Linked DNA regions of Homo sapiens: regions 1 and 2 are each linked to region 3. Evidence: promoter capture Hi-C in 16 types of primary human blood cells and fetal thymus (Javierre and others, 2016). All regions are on one chromosome and are shown on one strand. The core of a region is centred on a gene start or on the middle of the fragment in contact, and the rest is flanking DNA. Distances in the headings are between cores, read along the strand shown. Region 1 has its middle 11 kb from the start of MRGPRE. Region 2 overlaps MRGPRE (MAS related GPR family member E). Region 3 holds the start of ZNF195 (zinc finger protein 195).

Region 1 (4,859 bases), core at 1,901-4,400, 130 kb before region 3:
AGACATGAGCCATTGTGGCTGGCCTAGAATTTTATTTTTTGTTTACAGATACAGTACCCATTTTCATAAGGCGTTTAGGTAAAGGAGTCACAACTACTTTACATAAACCTGTTTAAACATCTCAAAATTCATAATTCTATCATCCCTCACATTCTTATGTTCTGGTCCCAGGATTTTTTCTTCTCTACCCACAGACTATTTTACTTTTTCTGGTGAAAAAAGATTTGGGTTCCCAGCAGGGGATTGAGCCAAGGGACTCAGGCCCTTTTGTGAATCTTAATCTCATTTTTCCTTAGCATTGCCCTAGGCAATGTCAGCTTCTCATTATCACCTTTGCCTTTTGATTTTTCTTAAATTTCTCTAATCTGGGGCAAATGCCAAACAATTGGTATGGGGCCCTTTAATGTTGAGAGAGTGGTAGGAACTCCCTTTGGTCCATCCAAGCTTTGATAGTGTTGTAAAGATCTTTGTTTTAACTCCATGAATTTTCATTTTGTTTATTTCATTTTTTAATAACCATTGGAAGATTTCCACTCTTCTGGGATCAGTCCCCTGACTCCCTTTTGCATTTCCCATTTTTTTTTTGTTAACTATCTTAATGTTTTATTAGCATCTGTGAGACCCATGAAGGATAGCAAATTTGAAAAGGCTTCTCAAGACATTGTTCGATTCTGCAGAAGTAATGTCACCTGGGGTGCCCATGGAGAAGGGGTCCCCTTAACCACAGCATCTACTGTGACCTGAGTAATAGGCACATTCAGTGGGTGAATATCTGGTCATCACAAAGTCAGTCCCATATGACTTGTTTAAGAAGCATATCAACTGCTTCCTCTGGGGTGATCCACTTGGTATTTTATAGGGAAAGTTGGGCAGTCCTCTCAGGGTAAACAGCCCTTACAGTGGTGTTTATCAGGTCCACTAGGCTGGTCATTCTCTCAGCAACAACCTTCTGTGCATTTGGATCACATATACTCATCAGCAATTATCTAATAGTGAGCTGTGGGTCTACATCAACTCAAAGATGCTCTTTCATTCTGTAGCATTTGAAATTAAGGGTACTATCCTTAAAGCAGTTACTCTTACAGTCCATTTTAGTAAAGGTTTCTTAGGAAGCTGACGATACCAATCTACAAAATGGAACAATTCCTTTACATTATACCATCTAGTTTTGTTACTTGGTTTTGCCCTTCTCCAATGTTGACTCTCTTCTAGGTAACCACAGGTTCCGGAAGTACCTTTTGCTGCCCGTAATTTTTCCTTTTGCGGGTAGCTTTGAGGCTGGTGGCCTGAGCTGAGACAAACCCACATCTGAGCTTGGTCCAGCCTTAAGGCCAAACCCAATACTCATTCACTGTCATTTTACCTATCACAGATAACAATAGCCATGGGATTGAATATTTTGCTTTTGCCTTATTAGTTTGCATTTCCTTATGCATCCAGTGAACCAACTTCCTGGAGTATGATCTATCTCTAAATTCCACTGGTGGCTTTCACCTTTAGTAACTGAATGCAGTCCAGCTGTAGCTCCTTAAGATGGGTAACCATGTGGCCACCCAGGAGTCAAAGGTTTCTCATTCCCAACCCTTTCCTTTTCTTTTTATCCATTTAGTTTTGTCTATATAATTTCTCCTTTTTAGGCAGAATGTGGGACTTGACTCTGGAGGTGGGGCTTGGTCACCAGACCAAACTGAGGACTAGCTAAAACAGGGACAAGGCAAAAGCTGGTTTCCATAAGACATGCCTGCCACTGTGCCATGTCAGTTTACCATTGCGATGGCAACACCTGATGTTACCACCCCTTTTCATGGCAATGACCTGATGACCCAGAAATTACCACCCTTTTCCTAGAAATTTCTACATAACTACTGCTTAACTCACATGTAATTAAAAGTGGGTATAAATGTGAGTGCAGAACTCTGAGCTCTGCTCTGGGCACACAGCCTATGGGGTGTCCCTGCTCTGCAAGGAGCAGCACCTTTTCTGCTGCTGTGCACTGCTGCTTCAATCAAAGTTGCTGTCTAACACCACCAGCTCATCCTTGAATTCTTTCTAGGGTGAAGCCAAGAATGCTCCTGGGATAAGCCCCAGTTCTGGGGCTCACCTGCCATGCATCACTTTATTTAAGGCAACCCTTAAATAGCCTCTAAACTAGGAAAAATTACATTTTCTTTAGGAAAAACCATATCCTCATGTTTTTATAAACCTCACCAAAAACACATCTTAGTCTTCTGCTGTTATACCTCTTGATAACCCAAATTCCCAGTGAAAAACCTAAGATTACTTAATTTAACATAATATGACTACTGGAGAGAATTTTGAGATTAAATTTATCAAATTCATCTTACCAAAGACTACTAAAGTCATGTGAACTAAAAGGCATCTTAGCTAGTTTCTGTTAGTCTGATAAATACTTACTTTTCTTTAATCCAACTGATTAGAGCTCTTTCATATAAGTTGGTAGTGAAATATCACTTTCACATGTCACATATACACATATAGGCACTCCAGGCACATAAACAGAGGCAGATCCTTTGTAATCACCCCTTAAGATTTTTTATTTACCTATTTTCAAAATTTCTCTCTAAATTTATCTAAATTACTTTAGACTACTACTAAAAAAAAAGTTACAAGAGCCAACAAAAGTTGAAGAGGAGTTACCAACCCAGGCGTTCTCAAAGGGAGAAAGAGCTGAAGCAGTGGGATACAGTGGAAGTTGAACTTCTGAGACATCAATCTGAAGAATTTCAAAAAGACAGTTTATAGAATGTAAAAATGAAAAACTTGCAGTCTCATTAGGAGTAAATCAATATTTTAAGAAAATCTTGTTCTAACCAATTCTTTAGTTTTATTATTAGTGTATTTTTAATATCAAAGTCCAATTTCTAGAAAGACTATAATAATTTCCTTTTAATTATGGCCAACTCAATAACAGAACATTTAAAAAAATAAATTCATTTTTTTATGAGCCTTATTATGACTTATACAAACCCTTCGTGACATGCTTGAACTTTCTGGTTTGTACTACACACAGCTCTTTCTTAAACAATCACTCATTTTATTTCAGGACAAAAATTTACCATACAAGATTTTTTCTCATGCAAAATTATTCTTCTTTAAATCTTTCTTAACAAAAAATACTTCTTCATATTTATAACTTTTTTCTTTTGAGACAGAATCTCACTCTGTCACCTAGGCTGTAGTGCAGTGGCACAATCTCGGCTCACTGCAACCTCCACCTCCCAGATTAAAGTGATTTTCATGCCTCAGCCTCCCAAGTAGCTGGGATTACAGGTGCCTGGCTAATTTTTTTTGTATTATATTTTTTGTATAGCCACCATGCCTGGCTAATTTTTTTTGTATTATTATTATTATTATTATTATTATTATTTTTTAGTAGAGAGGGTTCTACCATGTTGGCCAGGCTGGTCTAAAACTCCTGGATTTAAGCCATCCACCCACCTACAAAGATAATTACACAAAGATAATTATGTTTGAGGCTGGGTTTATAGTTTTATAACCTTCATGCCCAATCTTGACACCTTATAATACCTAGCAGAAATAAATATAGGACTACTAGACCAATAAATCTAAATGATAATGTATATCAGTAATTCTGAAGACATTTCTAATTTTATTTTACCAATAATGTCAAAGTCAGCTTATTTATTAAATATTTTACTTAAGTCATGTGAACTTGAAAAGCATTTGGGTTTATTTACTTAATTTATGAGTACTCCTTAACTTTAAGCCAATTTGTTACCTTATGGCCACAACACATAACAAAATACATGTACATACATATAAACACACACATACACACTCATACAAAGATCCTCTAACTTTTACTTCAGAACTCTAACCATGAGATATCAATACAAACTTATCAGTTTACCAAATAAAAACAAAAACAAAAAACAAACATGATTGGATCCAAACAGTGGTTTTTATCTTAGTAGAAAAGTAACAGCAGATTTAAAGCAGGCAGAAAGTAAAATAGAGAAATAGAGACCTTAGGAACTCTTAGTTGCAGCTCAACCTTTGGGGGTCTGAATTTTTCCTTGATGTACTTGTGCATCAGTTTAAAATGTGCAAAACAGACCATAATATGTAACCAGTGGGAGTACTAGAAAACCTGGCATGCTCTCAAAATTTTCCACTTACACAAACACTTGCAAGTAAAAGCAAGCACCATAAAACCAAATGGAATGCCCAAAAGGGGGTTGTTTTCCTTGTCTTTCCTCATTCTTAGATGAGAAGACCCTTTAAAATAGGGGTCCCCAAACCCTGGGCCACAGACCATGGCCTGTTAGGAACCAGGCCATACCACAGAAGGTGAGTGGTGGGCAAGTGAGCGGAGCTTCATCTGTATTTACAACCACTCCCCATTGCTCACATTACTGCCCGAGCACTGCCTCCTGTCAGATCAGCAATGACATTAAATTCTCATAGGAGCTCGAACCCTATTGTCAACTGTGCATATGAGGGATCTAGGTTGCATGTTCCTTATGAGAATCTGATGCCTGATGATCTGTCACTGTCTCCCACCACTCCCAGACAGGACCTTCTAGTTGCAGGAAAACAAGCTCAGGGCTCCCACTGGGTCCACATTATGGGTGAGTTGTATAATTATTTCATTATATATTACAATGTAATAATACTAGAAATAAAGTACACAATAAATGTAATGCACTTGAATAATCTTGAAACCATCCCCCCTCCCTGGTCCATGGAAAAATCGTCTTCCATGAAACCAGTCCCTGGTGACAAAAAAGTTGGGGACCACAGCTTTAGAATGCACCTCTGAACTAGAATTAGGATCCTAAACAAAACCAAAACGTGGTGCCTGAAAGGGGGTTGTT
Region 2 (4,930 bases), core at 1,196-3,695, 150 kb before region 3:
CATGGTCCTAATGTCCTGAGGGCTCAAGGACCACAGAACTGGAGGCCAAGCTGGCACATCTGGGGCCAAGGGGATACCCCACCAGCATCCTGGGCCATCAGGCCATATACCTGCTGCCACAGCAGCTACTAGAGTGGGGACGAGCTGGGCCCAGTTTCCATGGAGACCTCAGATGAGGCCACATTTCCCGGACTCCTCGAGAAGGGGCTAATAAGGAGGAATCTAGAGCCACTCCAATCCCCTGGATGCTGAGAGCAGGCTCTCTGGGAAGAAGTGAGCATTCTAAGGGTCCGCAATCTCTCTGAACCCTTATGCAGCAAAGGGGTCTGCGTGGGGATGGGGCCAGGGTTGGGGGAGCCAGTGTGGGGCTGAGGACACCTGAGCCAGCCCTGGTCCAGTGAGGCGGAGCGTGTGGCGTGGGAGGGTGGTGCTGGGAGTCACCTTCTGGCTTTGCAGCTTTCCTGTGGTCCTGAACGGCCACATAGCCCCTCGGAGCCTTGGTGGCTCATCTGCAGAGTGGGAGCACCTTCCTACATTATTACGAGGATTCCCCGGGAACACGTCCACGGTGAGGTCATGTCCGTGAGATGAATCTGTGCTTTTCCTCCTGGTTCTTCCTTGTTCTGGGGGAAGTTTATGTCCTGGGGCTGAAAGTGGAATTTGTGGACAGGCCACTTCCCTTTCTGTTCTTGTTTCTCCAGCTGAGGAACTGAAGTTGCTAATCACGTCCTGGAGGTGGGGAGAGAGGGCCCTGTGCAGATCCTGGGCTGGAGATAATTTGGGAGGAGGTAAGTCCCCAAGTGGGGGCTGGAGGTGCTCTAGGAGAGGTGGGTCCAGCCCCTGGGGCTCCCAGTCTCAAGGGATACCTGGACCCAGGCCTGCTGGGCACGTGCGGGAGCCTGAGGTGAACGCACTGTGTGGGCTGGGAGGGGCCCGGTGCAGCCGGATTCCAGGGTGCTGACCAGGGATCTGCGACTCACACCCAGACTCAAGAGGGGCTGGTTCAGTCATGGTCCAGAGGGAATGTCCTTCCATCACCAGCCATGGAGGCCGGAGTCAGAAATCAAAGAAAACACTCTCAGATGCCTTGGTCTGTGGCTAAGAATTGCACTGTGGACTTGGATGTGTGGCGTTGGTGGCAGTAGAATCGACAGACATTTCTCTTGGGCTCACGAGAGGCTGGACAGGCCTCAAAGCACTGGGTTCTCATATTTTACAGACCAGCAAACAGAGGCGTAGGGATGTTCAGAGATGGCCTTGGCAGCACAGTGGGGTGGCTAGCGGGGCTCAGCCCAGGCTGTGGGCTCCAAAGCCCCCACTCTAGCACCCCTGGCACATGCTCCTGGATGGCAGCCAGGCCTGGCACTCAGCGGAAGCTCGGAAACCTGTTGAGGGGTGAAGCCTGGGTTCCTTCCTCAGAGGGATCCTCTGGAGCGGGACTTGCTCAGGACAGAGGCGGGTGAACTGCCTTGGATGGGGCCGGTGTGAAGCTTTCTGGTTGCTGAAGACCTGGGTCCTGTGGGGAGACAGGGCTGCAGGCTGCTGGGTGGGGCTGTAAGAAGCCTCTCCACCCACCCAGGGTGCACCCTCCTAATATCCAGGGACACCCATGGGGCCGGCTTTTCTGAAGCTCCGAGTGAGGGTTGCATCGTCCCGGTCTGAGGTGCACGGCCTTGAGCAACTGGCTGATGATCAAGGACGGGGAGGGGGTCAAGTTTTGGGCAGTCTTCCATTTTAGGGTCAATTTAGCTTCCACAGCGGGCACAAGGCGAGCTGAGGGGATGGTTGTGTTATCTGTGGGTGCACCTGCAGCATTGAGGAAGCTGGAGTGGGAGGGGAGGTGGCCTGCGGAAAGGCCTGGACCTGCCCCTCACCTGGCGTCTGGCCTTGCTTCCTTGCTTTCCGGGGTCTCCTCACTGCAGCTGAGCAGGGAATGGGTAGCAGCAGCAGCTCTCGAGTGCCAGTGCGTGAACCGTTGGGGAGGTTTCCCAAAAATGCACGTTCCTCGGCCTTCTCCCCAGAGACCCGGCCCGCCTGCCTGGGCATGTAGAGACCTTGCCTTTCCAGCTGCCTCCCAGGGGAGCCTCATGCTCCAGACCAAGGGTCACAACTTTGACAGCACATGACCGGGTCACCCACCAAGGCCTCCTCCAGGTCCGGCTGGCCCCAGCCTCTGACCCCACCACCTTCCCCAAGTCACCCTCTTGCCTCACGGGGGCTGCAGCTGGGGTCGGGGGCCCCAGGGCTCAGGCTGCTATGTCCACCAGGCCCCGGCGGGAGGTCTCCCTGACGGCCCCCAGCTCAGCCTCGTCTCCCAGCGCTCGCTGGAGGACCAGCCGGAGGGGCAGCCTGCGGCCCTGGGCACTGCCCAGGCAGAAGTAGACGACGGGCTTGGCCGCGCAGTGCACGGCGGCCATGAGGAAGCTGAAGTGGTAGAAGTAGTGGGGGATGTACCAGAGCAGGTTCCGGGACAGCCAGTAGATGCCGAAGGGCAGGCCGCAGAAGAGGAAGAGGAGGACGGTGAGGAGGATGAGCCCAGGGAAGCCCCGGGGTGGGGGCCGCTGGGGGCCTCGCTCCACCCGCAGCAGCAGCATAAGGCTGGCCCCACACATGGTGCAACACAGCAGAGCCAGCAGCACCGCTGCCACCAGCCACAGCGTCCGGCACAAGTGGCGGCTGGGCTCCCCGAAGAACTGGGTGCAGGCGCCGCTGAGCAGCAGGTGCAGCAGCAGGCAGAGGGCCCAGGTGAGGGCGCACACACAGGTGGTCAGGTGGCGTGGGCGGCGGCACGAGTACCAGGCTGGGAAGAGGGCGGCCAGGCACTGCTCCACGCTGACGGCCGCCAGGAGACTCAGGCCCACGATGTAGCAGAAGAAGCGCAGCGTTGCCAGGCTGGTCTGCACGAAGCCCGGGAAGTCCAGCCGGCCTTGCAGCAAGTCGGGGACGATGGCCACCATGTGGCAGCCAAGGAAGATGAGATCCGCGCAGGCCACGTCCAGGAGGTAGATGGCGAAGGGGTTTCTGTAGACATTGGAGCTGAGCAGCCAGAGGACTGCCCCATTCCCCAGCAGCCCACCGAGGCCGAGCCCCTCGGTGAGGGACAGGATGATGAGGTTGAAGGCCACATCCTCCTGGGCGCCGTTGGCGGCCCCCACGTGCTGTCCAGCTTCTCTGGGCTCCATCATGGGGCGGGGGGCCAGGGGATGCTGCAGGAGTGTGTTCTGCTCGCTCTCTCTCCTGATGCCCCTGTAAACCACAACAGTTGAGTCTGGGGCTCAGGAATCCATGCCCCCTGCTCCTCCCCACATCAGGGGAGATGAGAGTTGGGTGGGTGACCAAGGGAATGGTGAGACCCTCCAGGAGAAGACCCCTCTCTCATTTCCACCCTCAGCCACCTGACCTAAGCTTCTCTTCCCTAAGACACTCAGGAGGAAGGTGTCCCCATTCCTCCCCTCCCCATGGTTACCTGGCCTCAAGAGCCTTCCGTGGGGCTGGTCCCTGTAGGCCAGGTGGGGGCAGGGACCAGGAGATGTGGGGAGAGGGTCTGAGACCCATGGGGCTCCCTGTTGCTAGTGGTGCCTTGATCCTCAGAATGGGCTTTTTTTTTTTTTTTTTTTTTTTTTTTTTGGAGATGGAGTCTGGCTCTGTTGCCCCAGGCTAGAGTGCAATGGCACCATCTCGGCTCACTGCAACCTCTGCCTCCCGGGTTCAAGTGATTCTCCTGTCTCAGCCTCCCGAAGAGCTGGGATTACAGGCGTGCATCACCATGCCCAGCTAATTTATTGCATTTTTAGTAGAGACAGGGTTTCACCATATTGGCCAGGCTGGTCTCGAACTCCTGACCTCGTGATCCGCCTGCCTTGGACTCCCAAAGAATAAAATATGACTTATTTTAAAGTCATAGGCAGAGCAGGAGGCACCGCCCATGTCTAATGAGTGGTGTGACCACAGAGGGACAGCTTACAGTGGCTGTGGGGCTTTTCGTCATCATCTTAAAGCAGCCCTCAACTCTTTGAGGCCTTTCCTTGACATCCATGAGGGGTTGTTTGCCAGTGGGCTCCCAGTCCCCAGCCCTCCAGCTTGGTCACACCATGCAGCCACATCAGGGCCACAGGAAAACTCCCTTTCCCCTGGCCATGTCCCTGCTGTCCTACAGCAGGACTCCAGCCCTCTGCAGGGTAGGGGGCACATGAGGAGGCTGCATCCTGCTCAACGTTGCCCGCCCTTTCCCCATGGGGAGAAGAGGGAGCTGTCTGATGATGGGGCTGGGAGGGGCCCTGAGCTTCCATGGCGTCTCCAGCCTCCCTCCATCCCCTCCCAAGGCAGTCGGCTCACGGGGACAGGTCCTGCGGGAGGGGTACTGAGTCCTGGGAGGCAGCACAAATCCCAGGGGACCTAGGCTGGAATCGGAGTCTTCATCACAGCTTTGCCAGAAATACAGCAAGTAATAGACTCTAGGAGACTGCCAGGTGCTCAGAGCCGGAGACATGCCTGCAGATACCCGGCCCCATGCTGCCCCTGTGGTTACCTGGCCCGTCATGTGTCTCTGAGTGCTTGGTGACCCCAGCTTCTCCTCTTGGGGTTGGGGGAGAGGGGATGGGGCCTTGCCTCTCCCCAGAGACTGGCTGGGGTCAGGGGCCGACACCAGGTGCCCCTCCCACCTTGGTGGTGGCTGGTCCTCCTGTGTCCTGGGAGGGCTGGGGTTTGGGGTGAGGAGGGTGGGGGTACAAGCAGAAACCCCCATAGCTGGTCTTAGCGGCTTCTTCCCACCTCAAGGTTGTGCTCAGAACCCCTGCTGTCTCCCTCCAGTGATAGGAGCACCCGAGACCATGCAGGGGGACGCTGCGGTGCTGGGATGCTGGGGAGAGGTGGCCCGGGGCGGGGCTATCGCTGAGCACAGAGGTGCCAGCCACCCCGTGAGGTGCTGGTC
Region 3 (4,580 bases), core at 1,629-4,128:
GTGTCCGATCTTGGCTTCCCTGGGCCACACATAAAATACACTAACACTAACGATAGCTGATAACTGAAAAAAAAAAAAAATCACAAAAAAGTCTCATAATGTTTTAATAAAGTTTACGAATTTGTGTTGGACCACATTCAAAGCCCAGGCCAGCATGTGGCCCAGGCCTGTGGGTTGGACAAGCTTGAGCCAGGCCTTCGATTGCTTTCTTTTGCAGACTCAGTATTAGCCTTAGCTTGGAATGACTGTTCTTGGGCTTCAACTTCCCAATCAGGGTTATCCACTTAGGTTTAAATAAGAAAATACCCAGTGTTGGAAACATCCAACAAAATCACTGAAACAGTTTACAGAAGAAAAGGAAACTGTAAGCACTTACACTTTCACCTCCACAGAAAAAGCAAAATTATTTATTGCTTTCAGACAATGAACTTGTCATTTAACTATTTCCATAACAAATCATATAGTAAACAATCACATGTGAACACTTTTAGAAGTGCTAAGTTCCATCTCCTACAACTTAGCATTAAGCTCAGACATCTAGAGAACAGGATATAAAACAGAGATACTCATGACAACAAATTCATCCTGCAAAAAGAGCTCATGTTCTGATGAATCTATGCAATTTACCAAGTAATCTACCATAATTTTTTTGTAGAAAATGTAAACATTCTCCACAGCCATCCAAGAAGCATTTTATGTTCCCTGGTAGCATTCCCAAAGCTAAGCCCTGGGATTCTGTTGGAAATCATCTTCCACAAAAGAACAGACCTAAGTAACTTTCTACCCTTAATCACTCTGGAGAAGAAAAAGGTATGTATGACTAGATATTTAACTTTTTTCCTGAAATTGACCTATTTCATGTCCTTTGTAAGTATTTTCTTACCTTTCAAGCTCTACTGATAAAATGTAAATTTACAATTAAAAATCCAACATTGCAGTAAGTGAATAAATTATTTCAAGGAGACACAGAGAGTGGCAGTGCCGACTGGAACACAGACACAGCTAATGACTTGTGTCAAGTCAGGCTATTCTATTCCTTGGGAGATTCTCCCACCTCCATCCTGTTCACCGAAGTGCTCACCGGCCACCCCCGATGATACACTGCACTGTGCCCCGCTGAGTGTCCCAGGTGAATTTTGCTTTACAGGTTTTGCACCATCTCACGGGGTGGAGTTTTTCTTGCTCTTTGAAACATTCTGTCTCCCTTCACAAATCTGAGAGTCCAAAGGGCAGAAATGATTTCGGTCTTTTCCCTCTGACAGGGGCATGTGATTGGCTGATCAGCCATGTGTCTCCAGGGATTGAAAGTTGGGTTGGGTGAAGACAATCTTAATGTCCTAAGTGGTTACCTCTTTAGAGGAAGAGTAGACCAGGAGATTTCTCTCAGCCCAGGGCATCCAGCTGCTCCCTGGAGAGGCCACACTTCATACCTCAGGCTGTCCTCTGAGAAATAACCCAGGGCCTGAAATTCACTAGATGCTCCAGCAGACATGGCCATGGTGGGCATCCTGTGTTATCCCTGGACAATACTGAAACTGAGGAAAAAGTCCAGAGGGTGGCTGAGAGCAAATCACCCTGTCAAGTTTCCAAAGTGGAACCTCAAACCAAAGACATTCTGGTAAGGTGTCTGTGCCTAGGGAAAATAAAAAGGAGGAGAGGCACAAAGACTTTTTACAATAGCGTCAGGGGATGATTCTCTGCTTTCCTGTCACGTGGAATGATTACAAACAGAAAACAAATCTCTTAAAAAGTGCCGTCCAGGCTGGGCGCAGTGGCTCACGACTGTAATCCCAGCACTTTGGGAGGCCAAGGCAGGCGGATCACATGAGGTCAGGAGTTCAAGACCAGCCTGGCCAACATGGTGAAACCCCGTCTCTACTAAAAATACAAAAATTAGCCGGGCGTGGTGGTGCAGGACTGTAATCTCAGCTACTCGGGAGGCTGAGGCAGGAGAATTGATTGAACCCGGGAGGCAGAGGTTGCAGTGAGCCGAGATCGCGCCACTGCACTCCAGCCTGGGGGACAGAGCGAGACTCCATCTCAAAAATAATAATAATTAAATAGCAGGCAATCCGACTGAGGTGGCTCTAGTGCCCTGGGTTCTTAGGTTAAAAAAAAAAATCTAACTCAGATGCGTTTCTTGCAAATGACTATCTTGCAGAAACAAAATTCAGGCTTCGTCAACCACAAACCTCTAATTAACTTCTGATTACAGGACCAGAAAATTTCAGCCTAGATAGCTGAAATCAGGAGATGACGTAACTGTACCGAACTAATGAATGAATGTGGTTTGCTTCCTCATGCACCTGATAAAAGCCTTTCCTTCAAGGCCGGCTGGTGGGACCTCCAAACCCAAAAAACATGGTTGGGTCCTCTGCCATTCATGAATCGCTCTTTGCTCAAATAAAACTCTTTCACATTTTTGCAAGGACTCCCTCGAGAGAAAGGAGGGACTGGGGCCCCCACGGGCTACAGATCATCCTCTTATGCACAAACCACCCACGGAGTCGGGATTCTCCCTTCCTGACTCGGGGAGACGAGGGTCTGCGGGCGAAGAGCTGCCGGGGGGACATGGCTCTGGGCTTGGGCCAAAGCCGCTCTGCAGGGATGCGCCGGGGCGCGCGGGGCCCGGCCGCCATGGTGCAGCTGGAGGGGCCTCGGGTCCGCGGAGCCCGGAACCCACCCGGGCAGCCCGGTTCCTCCCGAGCCGGTACCGCGGGTTCCAGTCCGCCCCTCCCTGTCTCTCAGGAGGCCTGGCCCCTACACTCACCATCTCCTGGCCTCCAGAGAGCCTGGCGTTTCACTTCTGGATCTCCCGGTGCCTGCGGGTCACACGACCTACGGCTAGCAGGGGACACAGAGCCGCGGGGACAGGAAGTGGAGCTCTGTCGGGACAAAGGCCCCGCTAGATCCCGGAAGCCGTCCTCTCCTCTCCAGACATGTGCCTGATTGGACAGTCCCCGCCCCTACTCCTCTGATTGGATAGGGCATCACGCCCCGCCCCCTCAGGCCCTGAGTGACAGGAGCTGTAATCAGACAATGGGCCGAATGAGACAGCAAGGACAGGTGCTGGCCGCGATCTTTTGGAGCGGGGCTTCCTGCCTGCGCTGTCCGGCCCCACCTAGAGGATATTTACATTTCATCTTGTGACTGCGGTTATGTTTATTTATAAATAATAAATATATGTTATTCACCAATGGAAAGAAGAAAATAAAGACAATCATTTTGAATTTTTATATTTTATGGCCTTCCTGGCTTTTGGTCCTTTGAACAGACAGCCTGAAATTTCAAAAAGGATTCAAGCCTCTAAGAATTAAAATGTAAGCCATGTGTGAATCTTAAATTTTCTAGTAGCCACGTTTTAAAATGTACTAAGAAACAGGTGAAGTTGATTGTAATAATTTAACCCAGTATGTAACCATTTTCCTCTATGGTCAATATACAATTGGTAAGGAAGTATATATTTTGGGGTACTAAATCTTTGAAGCTCACTCTGTATTTTACCTTTTCAGCACATTTCAGTTCAGACCAGCTGTATTCCTGTTATTCAATAGCCACACATGATCAATAGCTGCCACACTAAAGTGCAGCTCTGAGGTCTAACCTCCCTTATGTCAGGAAGTGGAGGGTCTGAAAGTCCCTTTTCAGCCAGAGGTGAGGGAACAGCCTCTTGCTACAAACATCTCTCCTCCGGTCGAAGGGTGGACGAGATGGTGATCCTAGAGAGCATAGGGGAAAGCAAAAGAAAATATCCACGGGTAGAGGACTGCTGCCCATCAATAATGGGGCCCTAAGAGGAGAGAACACATCTTCAGATCTGTCCATAGCCTTGACCTCCAACATTTAGATATGGAGGAAATAGACTAGAGGCAGACTTATCTTGCTATTTGGCCTTAGCCCTAATGATCAAGCTGTGATTGTCTGTTTCTTCCCGTGGTTGGGGGGCTGTGTGAGTAAAAGCACCAATCACATATATACATGTGTACATGCATTTCTGTATGACGGAACATTATCTTACAAAAGATCCAACTTTAAATAAGGGGGGAGAATTAGTACCTATAAAGTGCTTTCTTCTTGCAGGTAACTAGGAATCAACCTTTCATTGAATCCTGGCACCCTATCTGCCCTGGGTGCATGTATTAGTTAGCTATTGCATAACAAATCACCGAAAACTTAATAGCTCATGATTGAGTTCATCAGCCATTCACGCTGAACTCAACTGAGCTATTCTTGTCACAACTGGACTGCTTCATGTATGTATGGCCAGCTGCTGGTTGACTAGGTGGCTCTGCTTCTGGGGATGAGATGGCTATCAACAGTGGCACCTTCCTTCTCCCCACCATGGTATGTCATCCTCCAGCTGGCTAATCTCATAAAGATAGCAAGGTTCTGATAGCTTGATCTCATAAAGATAGCAAGGTTCTGAGAAACACAGAAGCATTTAAGACCTTTTGAGCCTAGGCCCAAAACTAGCACAAAAGCTGTCATATTCGCAGTTGATACGGTCTGGCTGTGTCCCCAGCCAAATCTCAACTTGAATTGTATCTCCCAGAATTCCCGTGTGTTGTGGGAGGGACCGG

Evidence for each region. Contacts are between HindIII fragments. The CHiCAGO score rates a contact against its expected background, and 5 or more counts as called.
Region 1: a contact is called between a fragment that was not itself captured here and the fragment with the promoter of ZNF195 in region 3, in 2 of 17 cell types (erythroblasts and M1 macrophages). The highest score is 5.5, in erythroblasts.
Region 2: a contact is called between a fragment that was not itself captured here and the fragment with the promoter of ZNF195 in region 3, in 1 of 17 cell types (erythroblasts). The highest score is 7.0, in erythroblasts.

What each region holds. Positions count from the first base shown.
Region 1 is chr11:3,241,139-3,245,997 of GRCh38, forward strand. No RefSeq gene overlaps it. Among named protein-coding and RNA genes, the nearest start is that of MRGPRE, 11 kb to the left of the region's middle. The HindIII fragment of the contact is 5,416 bases long and covers 443-4,859 here.
Region 2 is chr11:3,225,615-3,230,544 of GRCh38, forward strand. MRGPRE (MAS related GPR family member E) reads right to left here. Exons shown (of 2, transcript NM_001039165.4): 2 at 1-3,246. The coding sequence starts at 3,185. The coding sequence ends at 2,247. Among named protein-coding and RNA genes, the nearest start is that of MRGPRE, 4.3 kb to the right of the region's middle. The HindIII fragment of the contact is 1,915 bases long and covers 1,489-3,403 here.
Region 3 is chr11:3,376,268-3,380,847 of GRCh38, forward strand. It overlaps ZNF195 (zinc finger protein 195), which reads right to left and starts at 2,879. Exons shown (of 6, transcript NM_001130520.3): 1 at 2,771-2,879. The coding sequence starts at 2,773. RefSeq lists enhancers at 2,580-3,143, 2,832-3,126 and a silencer at 2,585-2,654. The HindIII fragment of the contact is 5,109 bases long and covers 182-4,580 here.